2 separate regions of the Homo sapiens genome follow, and region 2 is linked to region 1. Evidence: promoter capture Hi-C in 16 types of primary human blood cells and fetal thymus (Javierre and others, 2016). All regions are on one chromosome and are shown on one strand. Each heading gives the region's core, a stretch centred on a gene start or on the middle of the fragment in contact. The rest is flanking DNA. Distances are from core to core; before and after follow the strand shown. Region 1 holds the start of PATL1 (PAT1 homolog 1, processing body mRNA decay factor). Region 2 overlaps FAM111B (FAM111 trypsin like peptidase B).

Region 1 (7,391 bases), core at 2,577-5,076:
AGTCTAAGCTTTAATAAATGTATTAGGTCACTGCAAAACCAGTGACCATTATAATACTTTAAGGCCTCTTATTTGTTTTTGATATTCAACATCTTGGGATTACTGACTATTGCTAAATTTTCTCTTTTTCCTTATGACTTAACTTGGAGTATTTGTTGCACAGACAGAAGTGTTGCGACTACAAAAGAATCACACACATTTATACATTTGAACATAAACGCTGTTATTGCTGCTTTCCAGCACCAAGTCTAAGCAAACATATCTGCATTGACTCTTACCTATTCATTTGCTTAAAAATATACAGTTTTGGCCAGGCGTGGTGGCTTGCACCTGTAATCCCAGCACTTTGGGAGGCTGAGGAGGGATCACTTGAGGTCAGGAGTTCATGACCACCCTGGCCAACATGGAGAAACCCTGTCTCTACTAAAAATACAAAAATTAGCCGGGCGCTTGTGTTCTCAGCTACTTGGGAGGCTGAGACAGGAGAACTGCTTGAACTGGGGAGGCAGAAGCTGCAGTGAGCCGAGATCATGCTACTGCACTCCAGTCTAGGTGACAGAGCAAGACTCTGTCTCAAAACAAATATATGTGTATGTATACAGTTTAAAAATTTAAATTTCAATTTATTACTCCACTTGTTCTACACCTGTTCTAAGTAACATGTGTTCTCAAACTTTATCATATAAGCTTACTTCCTAAATTTTCCATCTTGGCATTTATAACCCCGTGGCCTGTAACCTTAGTTTGGCTCTTCAGTTTTTAAACTTTTTCCAACTCTTAAAATATGTATCTATAGGCTGGGCGCGGTGGCTCAGGCCTGTAATCCCAGCACTTTGGGAGGCCGAGATGGGCGGATCACGAGGTCAGGAGTTTGAGACCAGCCTGGTTAGCTCGGTGTGGTGGCGGGCACCTGTAATCCCGGCTACTCGGGAGCCTGAGGCAGGAGAACTGTTTGAACTCAGGAGGCGGAGGTTGCAGTGAGCCAAGATCGTGCCACTGCACTCCAGCCTGGGTGACAGAGCAAGACTTCATCTCGAAAAAGAATAAATAAATAAATAAATAATATGTATCTATACCCAGGGATGGACAAAATTTCATCTGTGCATACTTTTCTAACTTATGAGTCCTTTCTTGACCCCCAAAATTCTTGCTATAAAAAGCTTTATATTTTGAAGATACTATAAGTTGCAAAGTTATATACTAGTGATAGACTAAATTTTGAAACACATATACCCACATCCTAGAATCTGAATTTTCTACTAGTACACTAGTTTTCCATAAGTTATATGTTATACAAATAAAAATTCCTCTCATCTAGGATTAATTTAAATCTCTCTTAAATGTTTACTTCTCTAAACATTTGAATCCCTCATAGGGGCAACCTGTAGTCATCGATCATATAGCTGGAAGGGGCAAGGCTTACAGAATACCTGATTTTATAGGTAAGGCAAAAAGAGACCCAGAGGAGCAGGATAGGTGCTGTTTCCAGTGAAGAATGAACTATTCTAAGATGAGGAATAGAAGAATATCTTGCCAAGTTAGTGAATAAGGTTACCCCTAATAAGATAAAGCACTTCTAAAAGACAGCACTTGAAAAGAGCAGGAGGCTAAGATGATATTATAAGCGAAAGATGTCACTTACCAACTGCACCTGACCCAAATGTATCATCATTGAATTGATCAATCTCTTCATCTTCTTCTCCCAGTCCCTGAAATGCATCTTCATCTTCATCCAGAGGACAATCCTCCAAAGACTAAAAAAAAAGAAAAGACATTAGTTATTCATGAAATTCACACCCTCATTTTAAAAATGTTCTAAAAATGTTCATCTTACCTTCTCAATGAACATAATTGCTTCATTATGACTTTTTGTAAAGATGGCATTTTTTTTCTACTTCCCAATTTCCCTGACACTGGAAGATTTCATCATCTTTCTTTCACTTTCTATTTCCTAATCCTTATTTCATTTAATTCTTGCCCCACCTCACAGCATTCCATTTCTCTATTTTATCAAGAATCCACGAACAGCAGTTCCTCATGCAACCAAGAAATTAAGCCCACAACTTTCCTTACATCACTGGTTGGAATACTGATGACAATTAATAATGAACCCTTTATTTTCTTGTATCTTTATGTATCTTTTCCAGCAAAATTCTCATCTTTCTCATTATATTCATGTCATCTTTTCAACTATTATTCCGTTTTAAAGCTTTGTCTTCATTTTCCATCTTTCTTATCTTCCCTATAGGCCTAAACTCTAGTGATGAAACAGAAAATTAGGTCTTCAACCACAATAAAATGAACTCTGGAAAAGCTGTGGTATGACAAGTTCAAGTTCTGGCTCCATTCCTACAATCAGTGTGAACATGGGCAACTCAGAAAATTTCTAATTAATTCATCAAATACCTTTTAAGGACCTATTGCGTCTAAGGTTCTGTGCTAGGCTGTAAGGCTCAATGTCTTACATTGTAATGCAGGGACAATACCAACTATGGCAGAGAGTTGTGATGATCAAAGTGGGCAAAGATTACAGATTATCGAACAAAGGCTAGAGGCCACCACATCCTAGGTGTGTTCTATTTTCCCCCTTTACTTCAATCTTACTCAACTGATTTATTCTCCAAGTTTTCCTTTTGGTTTGGTCTTAGATCATTCCTATCAAGTATACCTGTCCTCAATTTTCAAAAATTCAGAATCAGAATTCCATATTCTATCAGTAGGTACGTTTGTGATACACCTTGCCTGGCTACCTCTTAGCTACCCTGTTTACAATGGAAAGATTAGGTCAAAGGGCGTTCTTCTTACCCCAGAGCCCTTCCAAACTCATGCCAATAGGCATGCCACTGCCTCCTTATCAGAGGCAACTTCCAGCAGTACTCCCTTCCAAATCACAAATATCTACTTTACCAAATCGCTGCTTTTTTAAATTAAAAATTCTTAAGGATCATTTACATCAGTTCTTTCATGCTACAAATTCAGAAAGTTTACGTCCAGAGATTAGGAGTCACTCAAGGTCACACAGTGAGTTGGTGACAGGGTCAGTACTGTCTGCTGCTATTGCTACATTCCCGGCACCTTCTCCAAACCCGCGTCTCCCAGCACTAGCCCAGAAGGAACTTCTGCAGGACACGCCCCCCTCCCAACTCGGAGCCCTCTTTAGTAAACGGGCTGGGGCCCTAATCCAACGGCAAGCCCAGGCCCCCTTCACCTGAAGGTAGCCTGTGTGAATGGGATGTGTGTCAGTGTAATTCGAGTGGAGGTGGGTGGGGGGTGGTTCCGGGTCCAGGGCGGGAAACGCGGCTCTGGGAATTCCCGGGTGACACCTACTTAAGAAAAGCACCCGGGGAGATGCAGTGCTCTACCCTCCGTGGCTCCTCTAGGGGTGGGGGCGGGGGTGTGGTCTGGTTACAGCACTTAACGGGCCCTCCCCACCCCAAAACGGAGGCCAACTTTCCCCAGCGGCAACTAATGGGACTGTCTCGACCCATGAAGCCAGCTCCCAGCCCTAGGATTAGACCCGCGACCCCAGACCAGTCGCGTCCAGCTAAGTCCTGCGACTCCCCCAGCCCGCCCCCTGCCCCGCAGGAACACAGGACCGGCGCGCGGAGAGAGAGTGAGGGAGAGGGGCGCGGGAGGGAGGGAGGGGTCACTTCCGGTCGCAACAGCTCACCTCGTAGCGGAACATTCTTGGGGAGGGGGGCAGGGAGCGGGGAGGGGAGAGGGGGAGGGAGGGAAGAAGCGCTGACTCCCCGGCTCCTCCGCGCGCGGGTCCTCCACCGGCTCGCGACCCCTGGCCGCCGCCGTACGCCGGAGCGTGCGTGGGGACGTGCGCAGGCGCGCCTCAGGCAGGGCGGCCACCCCGCTCGGCGCCCGGCGGCGGCGGCTGCGCAGGGACAGATTTGGCGTCCCGCTTCCTAGTCTCAGCGGCGGGAAGGAGGTCCCGTGGCGAGAGACTGCGCACGCGCTGCCCGTCTTCGGCTGCCTGGTGATCTGGGCTTGTAGCTCCGCCCCCTCTTTCTCCGCGCCCTCTAGGCGCTCGGCTTGGAGCTCAGGGGCCGGTCACGAGTTCTCCGTCACCCGTGGGGCGGAGAAAACCCTTGTGATTGTCACAGGATATAGCTTTGAAGAATCCTGCGCTTAGCCTGGGCTGGGAAAGATGAGATTCCCGGGCAGTTTTTCCAACGTCCGACTCACTCCTCAGGCTGCTCGGGGGTCTCCCCGTTGCAATCTGCGCCTTGCGCAGGGAAAAAAGAATGGAAAGTTGCTGGTCTTCGAAAGGGGCGGACTTCGTCGCCACTTTCAGCGGCTCGTCGCCTGCTGAATCCACAGCAGGTCAGGGCTGTGATTTATGTGGCTCAAAGTGATGACGGCGCCCGTTTTTTTTTTTTTTTTTTTTGAAATGCTGAAGACAGGTTCCGGGAGGTTTAACTAGGGTGGTATTTTTAAGCGCCAGGCTCATTAGGCGCGAGGAGCTGCAGAGCCTCGAAGGGCCGCACGGCCGTGGGCCGCTGGCCACGCAGCAGCAGGGTCTTCGGGCCGTGGTGCGCCGCTGGGTGACTCCACTTCCTTAGAGGATCGAACCCACAGAGGAATGTGTCCAGCTTAGAAGCTTCGGCCCCCTGGTTCCAGAATTCTGTTGGGTGGTTTGTTACCTCTAGCACGCTCCATGCCCTTCTTGCCCCTTTCCTTTCAGACAAAACTTGCAGCACAAAGAATGAATTCTTTTGGGTTTCGCAATCCGTTTCTTCCCTGGGCGTCTTAAAATGCAGCCTCGTCTCGGAATGGCATACAGTAAATCCCCTAAATGTTAGTGTGTCTGGATCAGTTTGAGTATCGGAAACGCTGAATTTGTGAAGAAAAGTTCTGGGTGGGAGCTTGTGCTTTGCCACTGGCTAGGAAACTTTGGGCAACTTACCTAAACCTCTCTGAGCCTTAGTTTCTTGTAAAATGGGTATAATTACACCTGCCTCATGATGGTAACACTACTAACGATTGAAGGCTGCCTGGGACTCTGCTAGGCGCTTTATAAAATGGATTATCTCATTGAATCCTTCCTTATGTGCCCCCCATGAGGTAGGTACTGTTATTTTCTCAGTTTACAGTTGAGGAACCTGAGGATTAGCGACATTGTTTGCCTCCAACCACCCAATGGCAAGTGGTAAAGCTAGCAGCTGAGATTTGTCTGATTATTAAAAACCGAGTGTCTTAATCACTGTGCCAGAATAACAAAAGCAAATGTTGACATGGGCCAGGCCTGAACTTTAAAGAAGTGGAGCGTCGGGACAAGATGATTTATTGGTTTTCAAGCATGCATGGAACATTATAAAACATCAAATACTAAGTAACAGGCCAGGCGCGGTGGCTCACGCCTGTAATCCCAGCACTTTGGGAGGCCGAGGTGGGCGGATCACAAGGTCAAGGAGATCTAGACCATCCTGGCTAACAGAGTGACACCCCGTCTCTACTAAAAATACAAAAAATTAGCCGGGCGTGGTGGCGGGCGCCTGTAGTCCCAGCTACTCGAGGGGCTGAGGCAGGAGAATTGCGTGAACCCGGGAGGCGGAGCTTGCAGTGAGCCGAGATCGCACCACTGCACTCTAGCCTGGGTGACAGAGCAAAGACTACGTCTCACAAAAAACAAACAAACAAACAAAAAAAACTAAGTAGCAGTACATCTTAATAATTACCAAAGAATTGGTGCCATGTAGATCAAGGGTTAGCAGACTATGGCCCACAGTCCAATCTGGCCAGCCACCCGTTTTTGTAAAGCAAGCTTTATTGGAATACAGCCAACCTTATTTATTTACATATTGTCTTTGATTGCTTTAATGTTATAAAGTCAGAGTTGAGTGGTTACAATGGATACAGTGTGGCCTGTAAAGTGTAACATATTTACTATTTGGCGCTTTACAGAGTTTGCTGATCCCTGATCTTGCAGATCATGTTTTCTGATCATTATGTAAGATATCAATAGTAAAAACAGATTAGGAAAAAAGTCTTAAGTTTTCAGAAATTAAAAAAGAAAAAAAAAAGTCCTGGCGCGGTGCCTCACGCCTGTAATCCCAGCACTTTGGGAGCCCGAGGCGGGCAGATCACGAGGTCAGGAGATGGAGACCATCCTGGCTAACATGGCGAAACCCTGTCTCTACTAAAAATACTAAAAATACAAAAAAATTAGCCGGGCGTGGTGGCGGGCGCCTGTAGTCCCAGCTACTCGGGAGGCTGAGGCAGGAGAATGGGGTGAACCCAGGAGGCAGAGCTTGAGGTGAGCCGAGTTCGCGCCACTGCACTCTAGCCTGGGTGACAGAGCGAGACTCTGTCTCAAAAAACAACAACAACAACAACAACAACAACAACAAAAACCAAAAAACCCCTCCAATTCAATGACTAAATAATGGAAAGCAGAAAATAGTTACAACTGATGTGGTGGGTGGATTGCATGAGCTCAGGAGTTGGAGACCAGCCTACGCAACATGGCGAAACCGCGACTCTACAAAAAGCACAAAAATTAGCTGGGTTAGTTGTTTTATTAGCTGCTCTGCATTATTTCTGGTCGTGGTGGTGTGCACCTGTGCCTGTAGTCCCAGCAGCTACTCGGGAGACTGAGGACGAAAATAGGGAAGCCTGAATATAAATTAGCTATAAAATAAACCCAAAGAAAGTACAAGGAAAGAAATGCTGTAGAGCAGGAATTAAAGGAGCAGAAAACAAAGTGTCATAGACAGGATCAACAAAATTTCCCATTTCCTCTTATACAACACCTGTCTGTGAGGGAGATTGAAAGTCCCTTTAAAAGAATAATGTATTTTTAGGCGGGTGCTGGTGGTTCACGCCTGTAATCCTAGCACTTTGGGAGGCCGAGGCGGGCGGATCACGAGGTCAGGAGATCGAGACCATCCTGGTTAACACGGTGGAACCCCGTCTCTACTAAAAGTACAAAAATTAGCCAGGCATGGTGGCACCCACCTGTAGTCCCAGCTACTCGGGAGGCTGAGGCAGGAGAATTGCTTGAACCTGGGAGGTGGAGGTTGTGGTGAGCTGAGATCACACCACTGCACTCCAGCCTGGGCAACAGAGGGAGACTCCATCTCAAAAAAAACTATATATATATATATATATATATATATATATATATATATATATATGGTTTTTTTTGTATATATATATATATATATATATATATATATAGTTTTTTTTGAGCTGCTAATAGGCCCATTATTAAGATGGAAAAGGTACAAGTTCTTTTCACAAGTGATTCTTTAGACATAAAGTATGATGTTTCTGGGAACTGTCCCTTGAGTGGGTGGGAGAAGGGAGGTGTCTCCTGCATGCCAAGTACATGGGAAAGGTTATTGACAGCTGAGGAAGGCCATCAATTAGAGAAAGCCACC
Region 2 (7,391 bases), core at 1-2,500, 560 kb before region 1:
CTGACGGGCACTTGCACCGTGTGGACAGACTCTCCGGTTCTGTGAGTGGTTTTTCTTTTCCCGGGTCGGACCTGGAGTTCTTAGGGGGATGGCTGACAAGGGCAGTAGGCAGAAGGACCTCAGCCCAAAGTCAAGGGGGTTTTGGATGGGGAGCTGGGCAGCCGCCCGTTGTAATTCCCTTCCCCCTGTCTCAGCTTCAAAGGCCAAGAGTTGTACTCCTGAAGAGATACTTAGAGATCATCTGGGTGTTCCTGAATCTCGAGAGGGTCGTTTGACCCTGGTGGGTCCTTTCCCTGCCCGGTGCCGTTCGCGCCCATAGAAGGAGACCAGGTTCGGTTAAGCAGAGCAGAAACTATTCACTGATCAAGGAATGGAGTAGGAGAGCTCCTGCTCAAAGTGCCTGGAGTGTAGTGTGAGGGTGCTTCTTAAGGTCTTTTAGGGCAGGTAGTTGGAAAGCAAGGATTTCTGGAAAGAGACGGGGCTTTCCAGAAACAGCTGAGTGTGGCAGTCTCCTATTTTCTGTTGCCACCCAACACTACATGTGCCTAGCAAGCTGCGTTTCTCCCCGAGGCACAGATTGAGGTATGGTAATCAGCAAGGATTCAGGTTAGGGTAGCGCTTCTAAGTTCGTTTCCCATCTTGTAGCACGGTGGTTACTGACATCCAGTCTCTGTTTCTGTAAGCAAGCACAGCTTCAAGCACAGGTTACCTTCATAGGTTCTGGGGCTTTAGGAAAGCATTGAGGTCATCCTGCGGTGACAGAGGCAGCTGTTCAAAGAACTTGGTGCGCCTTTGAGGCGGGGGTTGTGGAGTGAGGCAGGTAAAAATGCAGATTCCATAGCCACACCCCGACATACTGAATCAGAGTCTGTGAGGGTGGGATCTGGAATCCTTTTTAAAAAGCTTAGAGGAACCAATTCACACGAACAATAAAAGTTTCATCTGAGCCAAAGTCCTTAATCTAGAAATGAGGAAATGGGGATCCCTAAAAGGGTTACAGGGAGAGGGTTGGTGGAAAGTTAGACTATGACAGTTTTAGGGTGGTTCTTTCCTGGCCTTGGAAAGTTTTCTCAGCTGCTGCTCTGATCAGTACACAGCTGAATGCTTTAGGGGAACCCTCTTCATATATCCAGAGTTCCCTCTCTGTGCAGGTCTCCCACCATGTCTTTGGCCTGTGACCTCTTGTCACCTTAGTCTCTCAGCTTTGTCTCCTTAAATCTGGAATTCCTACTGGTTTTGTCTTGCTGCCCTTCCTTGCCACACTGGCCTGGAATTCCTCAAGGTAGTCTGCTAAAGTGGATTATAGGATACATTTCAATTGTCACTGTCCTTAATTGCATAATGTCCAGTTCCTTGCAAACCATTGTTTCATATGTTTTGCTCTTTTTTGTTTTGTTTTGTTTTCATACTAGGGGGAAATCCAGTCCCTGTTACTCCATTTTGGCCAGAAATTCAAGGTAATGACTTTTAATGTTTCTGACTGCTAGTTCTATCTTCTCTCTCACTTCTGGACCTGTCTCTATTCACTGATATTTCTAGTCATTATGGGTCATATTTATCCACTTTTTAAGTGCCTGCTGATTTTTTTATTAGATATCAAGCTTTGTTAATTTCACAACTTTGGGTGCCAGAAATTTTTACATTCCTATCAATATTCTTGAGCTTTGTTCTAGTATGTTCATATTTTACATGGAAACCATTTTATACTTTCGAAGCTTGCTTTTATTTATTAGGTGGGAGCAGAACTAGGGCTAATTTTGTCCTACTGCGGAAGAAATACCTTGCAGAGTAGTCTCCCTGATACTTCATGAATTATGAAGTTTTCTAGTCGGATTTTTGGGAATTGAAATTATACACAGTCCTGTATGAGCCTCAGAAATTGTTACATCTGCTTCTTTTGGGTACTTCTTTTCCTGTTCCTTTTCAACAGTTTCGTTCCACTCATGCATTGACCAAGCTGAAATCTCAAGGGATACCCACTGCAGATCTCTCATACTGTGTGCTCCTGTGGCTGTCTTCTCCCTAGTACTCTGTCATACAAGCTCCAGTCATCTTGGCCTCCCAAAACTCCTTGCTTGTCTTCTCAAATCAGGGAAACTACTAGACTCTGCCTGTTTCTCCTTCCTAAGATATGCCTTGGAAACTCCATACAGTAAGCTAAATAGCCATAGGGCTTACCTCATATGATTTTCTTCTCAGATATCAGAGATGAGGTCCCACACCACCTGATCTCCAGTGTTTGAAAGTGGTTATTTCATAGATCTTGTTTTTTTGGTTTTTTTAGACATTTCAGGTGGCAGAATAAATTCAATCCTTGTTTCTCCATCTTATCGAGTAGTAGAAGTTAGTTACATTCTCTTTGAACTCATCATGAATTCCATGAAGACTGAAGAAAACAAGTCATTTAGCGCTATGGAAGATGACCAGAGGACTAGACCTGAAGTTTCAAAGGTATATCTACTTTTTTACAACTCCTCAGAGGAGTGATAGTCTAACTATAGTGCCATATGAGGATCTTGGAGATAAGTTCTTAAACAATGGTCGTTATAAGCCCTTCTCTTAGGTAGTTTAAAATATATTTGGGGAGCTCATACACATAAGTGCTTGTGGAAAGCAAAATGATAGAGTTAACAATGCTAAACGTATGTTAAGACAACAAGATGACTAACAAACAATATAGACACTTAAAGTCTTGGAAAGTGTAGACAGGCAAAAATAATTAGCTAATGTTTTCTGAGGAAACACTGTGTGCCTAGAATTGTGTCCCATCATATGTATTATCTCATTTAACACTTAATAGAACTATGCAGTAGGTATTATTATCATACTTATTTTATAAAAGAAGAAACTGAAGCTCAACTTGCTTATAGTTGCAGAAGTAATGGACTTCAGAGCAAGGATTTAAACCTAGTCCATCAGACTGCAGAGACTGGTTTTTGACCCACACTATTTTGCTCAAAATATGCAAAATGATAATACAAAATTGAGACATAAACAAGTGATTTTAGAGTACAGAGAGAAGAATGCTTAATTCAGACTTAGGAAACTACAGCAGCGTCATATGAGAAATGATTTATTAATGAATAATAAATCTAAAATTGTCAAACTCATAGGTGTCGAAGTGGTTGTTGGGCTGGGAATAGAGAAAAATGGAGGTATTAGTCAAGGGGTACAAAGTTTCCTTATACAAGGTGAATAAGTTCTAGGGATCTGTACAGCATGGGTGCCTATAGTTAATAACACTGTTGTATACTCAAGTTCTTGCTAAAATGATAGATCTTATGTTAAGTGTTCTAATTACAAAAATAATAAGAGGGCAGGAAGAGACTTTGGGAGGTGATAGATAGGTTGATGGCATAGATTGTGGTGATAATGTATCTCCATACTCATCAAGTTGCATACATTAATTATGTACATTAATTATGCATTTTGTATGTCTAAAACTAAGTTATTTTTTAAAAAGAATGAATAACATTTCACTAGTGTATCAAGGATGAAGGAATGGCCTAAGTAAAGTCGTGTACACAGGAAAACATATTTGGGGAACAGGATAGCTGCATTTGATGCTTTATAAGGAGAATTCAAGAATATGGTAGGCAAATACTGTTTTCTATACTGGTAAGGTAGTATGGTGCCAAGATCACAGTAGGCTTTATATCAATAAGAGCTTTCCACATTTCCAGTAAAAATATTTTCTAATTGTGAAACAATAAAATGGATTCGCTGGTTCACATGAGTGGACATTCCAGAATTCAGCTGAGCTCTTAATTCAGTGGTATACAGTTTCTTTAAGGACTTGTTTGTGTGTTCAGTCTCTGTGTTCTGCTTTTCATGTTATCCCCTGGCTGGCTTTCTGCATAGTGACAAATAGAGCTGCAGTAATATCAGATGCTTTACTCTCCCTATAATGAGTCTATCCTGGTTTCCTGAGGAAACTTCTCTTTGCCATCTAATTGTCCCAACTTAAGTAGCTCACCCATTTCAACACAAAACCTTGTGACTGAGAGGGCACATATAGATATTCTTAAGCTGTCATGAATTCATTTCCATACGTGTATGGCTCCTAAAAAGTGGGAGAGAGGTAGAATAGCTTTCTGGAAAATAGCTGCAGTATCTTTTTTTTCTTTGAATTCCATGTGTAGGTTTTTGGATTTCCTTCTGTAAATAAAGGAGATGTGTTTACAGACTTTATCTTTGTATTGCTTAGGAGGAGTTATTCAATTCACTTAAGACTTTGTTAAGTTAAATATTAATGTTAAAATGATTAGGGCTATTTCGTTCAAGACAATTGCCACTAATCACATGTGATTATGTAAATTTAAATTTAAATTCAACTTAACTAAAATCAAATAATGAAAAAGGTCAATAGTACAAATTCTCAGTTATATCACGTGTCAAGTACTTAAGAACCACATGTGGCTGTGGAATTAGACAGTGCAGATGTAGAACATTTCCGTCACTGCAGACATTCTATTGGGCAGTACTAGTCTAGGGCATCCAATTATAGAACAGAACTAGAGTATAAAACTGCCAAACTGTTCGTCTAGAAAATAGAATGAGAGGGAAAAATCAAAGTAAAGGAGGCAACAAAGCAAGGGAATATAAATTCAGAAAAAGTGGCAAAAGTAGAAGATACAAAAAAAGATGATAGAAATGAACACAAAAACCCCCACACCCAATTAATTGTCTTACAGATTATTTGAAAGGCTTTAACTTTTATTGTTTCCTTTAAATTTATGTATTTCATATACAGTAAAATTCAGTCTTTTTGGTATACAGTTGAATGGCTTATAACAAATGCCTGCAGTAATGTAACCATGACCAAAATCCAGAAGCAAAGCAGTTCCATCACCCTAAATAATTTCTTGTGTGGTTCCATCACTCTATATAATTTCCTGTTCTCCCCACTTGTGCCCTATTCATCCCAGTCCCTGGCAACCACTAATCTGTTCATTACTCTAGTGTTAACTTTTCCAGAACATCATATAAATGGAACATACACTGAATCATACCCTTTGAGTCTGGCTTCTTTCACTTAGAACATTCCATTTAAGATTCATGAGTGTTGCATGCACTGATAGGTTTTTTCTTTTTATTGATGAGTAGCATTCCACTGTGTGAATGTATCAAAATCTGTTTATCCATTCACTCCCTTAAGAACATTTGAATTGTTTCCAGTTTGGGGACTTTGTATATAAAGCTGTTGTGAACATTTGCCTGCAGGTTTTTGTATGAAGATTAGTTTTCATTTCTCTTGGGTTCACCTAGCAGTGGAATTGCTGTCATGGAAAGTGTATGACATAACTTTAATTTTATAAGAAATTATCAAAATGTTTACAAAATGGCTGTATGATTTCTCATCCTCGTTACCAATGTGTGAGAGTTCCAGTTGTTTCATATTCTTGTCAACACAAAGTTTTTCTGATTTATTCATTCTCATAGGTATGTAATGGCATCGTTTTGTGGTATTAATTTGTATTTCACTATGACTCATGATTTGAGCATCTTTTCATGTGTTTATATCATCCACATATCTTTGGTGAAGTGTCTATTAAAATATTTTTCCCATTTTATACTTGTTAGTTATTGCTGAGTTTTGAGAGGGCTTTACATATTTTGGAAACAAGTCCTTTGTCATATTGCTTTTCTCATAATATTTGTGATAATTCCTGATATTTTATCTCTGTGTGGCTTGTCTTTTCATCCTTTTATTCCTGTTTCGGGAGGGAAAAGTTTTCAACTTTGATGAAGTCCACTTTCTCTATATTTCTCTTTGTGGATCATGCTTTTGCTTTTACATCAGAGAACTGTCCTAAATCTAAGATCACAAAACATTTCTAGTTTTCTTCCAGAGTTGTAGTTTTAGGTTTAGTCTGCAATTGATTTTAAGTTTTATTTATTTTTTGTATGGTGCAATATCTGGATCAAAGTTTGTGTGTTTGTGTAAATTGTGTGTTGTGTAAAAAAATTAACACAATTGTGGATGATTAGCATCTTAACCATGTTGAGTCTTCCAATCTTGAACAAGATATATTCTCCATTTATTTTGGTCTTGTTTAATTTCTTTTGCTGTGGGGTACCTGGGAGAATAGGCAAACCTGGTGGATGAAGGCAGAGCAGGGAGTGGGTGATTGAAGGGGCAATGTGACTGGTGCATTATTCTCTCCAAGGCCACCAGACAAGGTGAGAACTAGAAAGATCAGAAGTACAAGGCACAAGTGACAGAGGTTAGTCATCCTGACATCATGCAGCTTTAAGATTGTCCAGAGAACTGTGAGTGGCTGCTATTACCTCTGGGTCTCTGGAGTATGTCTTGCCCCTTTGACGAGAAACCCTTGCTTCCTCCACCCTACATAAACTCCTCAAAAGAGAAACCTCTAGCACTGGAATCTCCCTCCCCAGACAAAAGCTCTGCACAGATGGAGTCACGTCTCTATCAGCGTCCCCCAGACTTAGAGTCCCCTGGAAACTGGATGGTCAAGATCATAAGTTATTGGGACTTATGTATGCCAGATGCAACAGTCTGCCCGGCACATTAGACACATCTTATGGGAGTCTCACCACACCTAGAGGGAAGTGTTTTCCAATTTGACAGAAAACAGAGGGGAGGCATTTGTTCAGAATGCATTTGAAACCTGGCCCCTCGGCAAACTTTACTGACCAGCTTCTACTTTAGGGACTAGGCATGTGAAAGAAGGACAGAGTCCCAGCTCTTGTGAACCTTACATTTTAAAGAGTGAAAGAGATTATCCAGGAAACAGACAAATAGAAAGTTTTCGCTAGTGGATCAAGAACATACAAAGGTAACAGAAAGTGGCAAGTGTGTGCCTTGGAGTGCTGCTCCGGCTAGGGAAGTCAAGAGGCCTCTGAAGTGGCCCTGAAGACACCCAAGGGAAGGCCAGACAGAATGGTGAATGCACAAGCCCTGAGAATGGCTAAGGCTTCCTGTCCAGGGCCTGAGTGATCACTGTAGCTGGGACCAAGGGGAGAGGAGCTGAGCAGCAGAAGGTGGGGCAGAGGGAGGGGTGGACAGGGGCCAGAACACTCTAGCCCCATGGGCCTTGGAAAAGAGGGGATGGGAAGATGCTTGAAGGGATAGAAGAGTTGAGAGTGGAGGCTATTCCAAAAACATCCAGGCTAAAGAGGAGGGGGCCTGCAGTGGCCTGAGACTGGGAGCTGAAGGGGCAGAGAGGAGGGGATGGAGTGGATGAGAGGTGTGAAGGAAAAGAGAGATGGAGAATGTAGGGCTTAAACTGTGGAGGCCAGAGAGGGAGCAGAAATGACAAGTAGGTTTTGACCCTAAAACCCAAGCACCTTAGCACTGACAGGAACTTCGCCTTTTTCTTCCTTGTCTCTAATTGGCCAGGACAGTGGTGAGTACATAGTAGATA

Evidence for each region. Contacts are between HindIII fragments. The CHiCAGO score rates a contact against its expected background, and 5 or more counts as called.
Region 2: a fragment that was not itself captured here is called in contact with the fragment with the promoter of PATL1 in region 1 in 1 of 17 cell types (fetal thymus); the score reaches 6.1 in fetal thymus.

Annotation. Positions count from the first base shown.
Region 1 is chr11:59,665,211-59,672,601 of GRCh38, forward strand. PATL1 (PAT1 homolog 1, processing body mRNA decay factor) reads right to left here and starts at 3,827. Exons shown (of 19, transcript NM_152716.3): 1 at 3,671-3,827; 2 at 1,643-1,754. The coding sequence starts at 3,685. It overlaps PATL1-DT (PATL1 divergent transcript), which reads left to right and starts at 4,100. Exons shown (of 4, transcript NR_187296.1): 1 at 4,100-4,332. RefSeq lists a silencer at 3,557-3,906 and enhancers at 3,866-4,160, 4,087-4,376. The HindIII fragment of the contact is 2,400 bases long and covers 2,208-4,607 here.
Region 2 is chr11:59,107,256-59,114,646 of GRCh38, forward strand. FAM111B (FAM111 trypsin like peptidase B) reads left to right here. Exons shown (of 4, transcript NM_198947.4): 1 at 1-41; 2 at 1,413-1,457; 3 at 2,285-2,451. The coding sequence starts at 2,371. Among named protein-coding and RNA genes, the nearest start is that of FAM111B, 3.7 kb to the left of the region's middle. RefSeq lists an enhancer at 1,101-1,150. The HindIII fragment of the contact is 698 bases long and covers 902-1,599 here.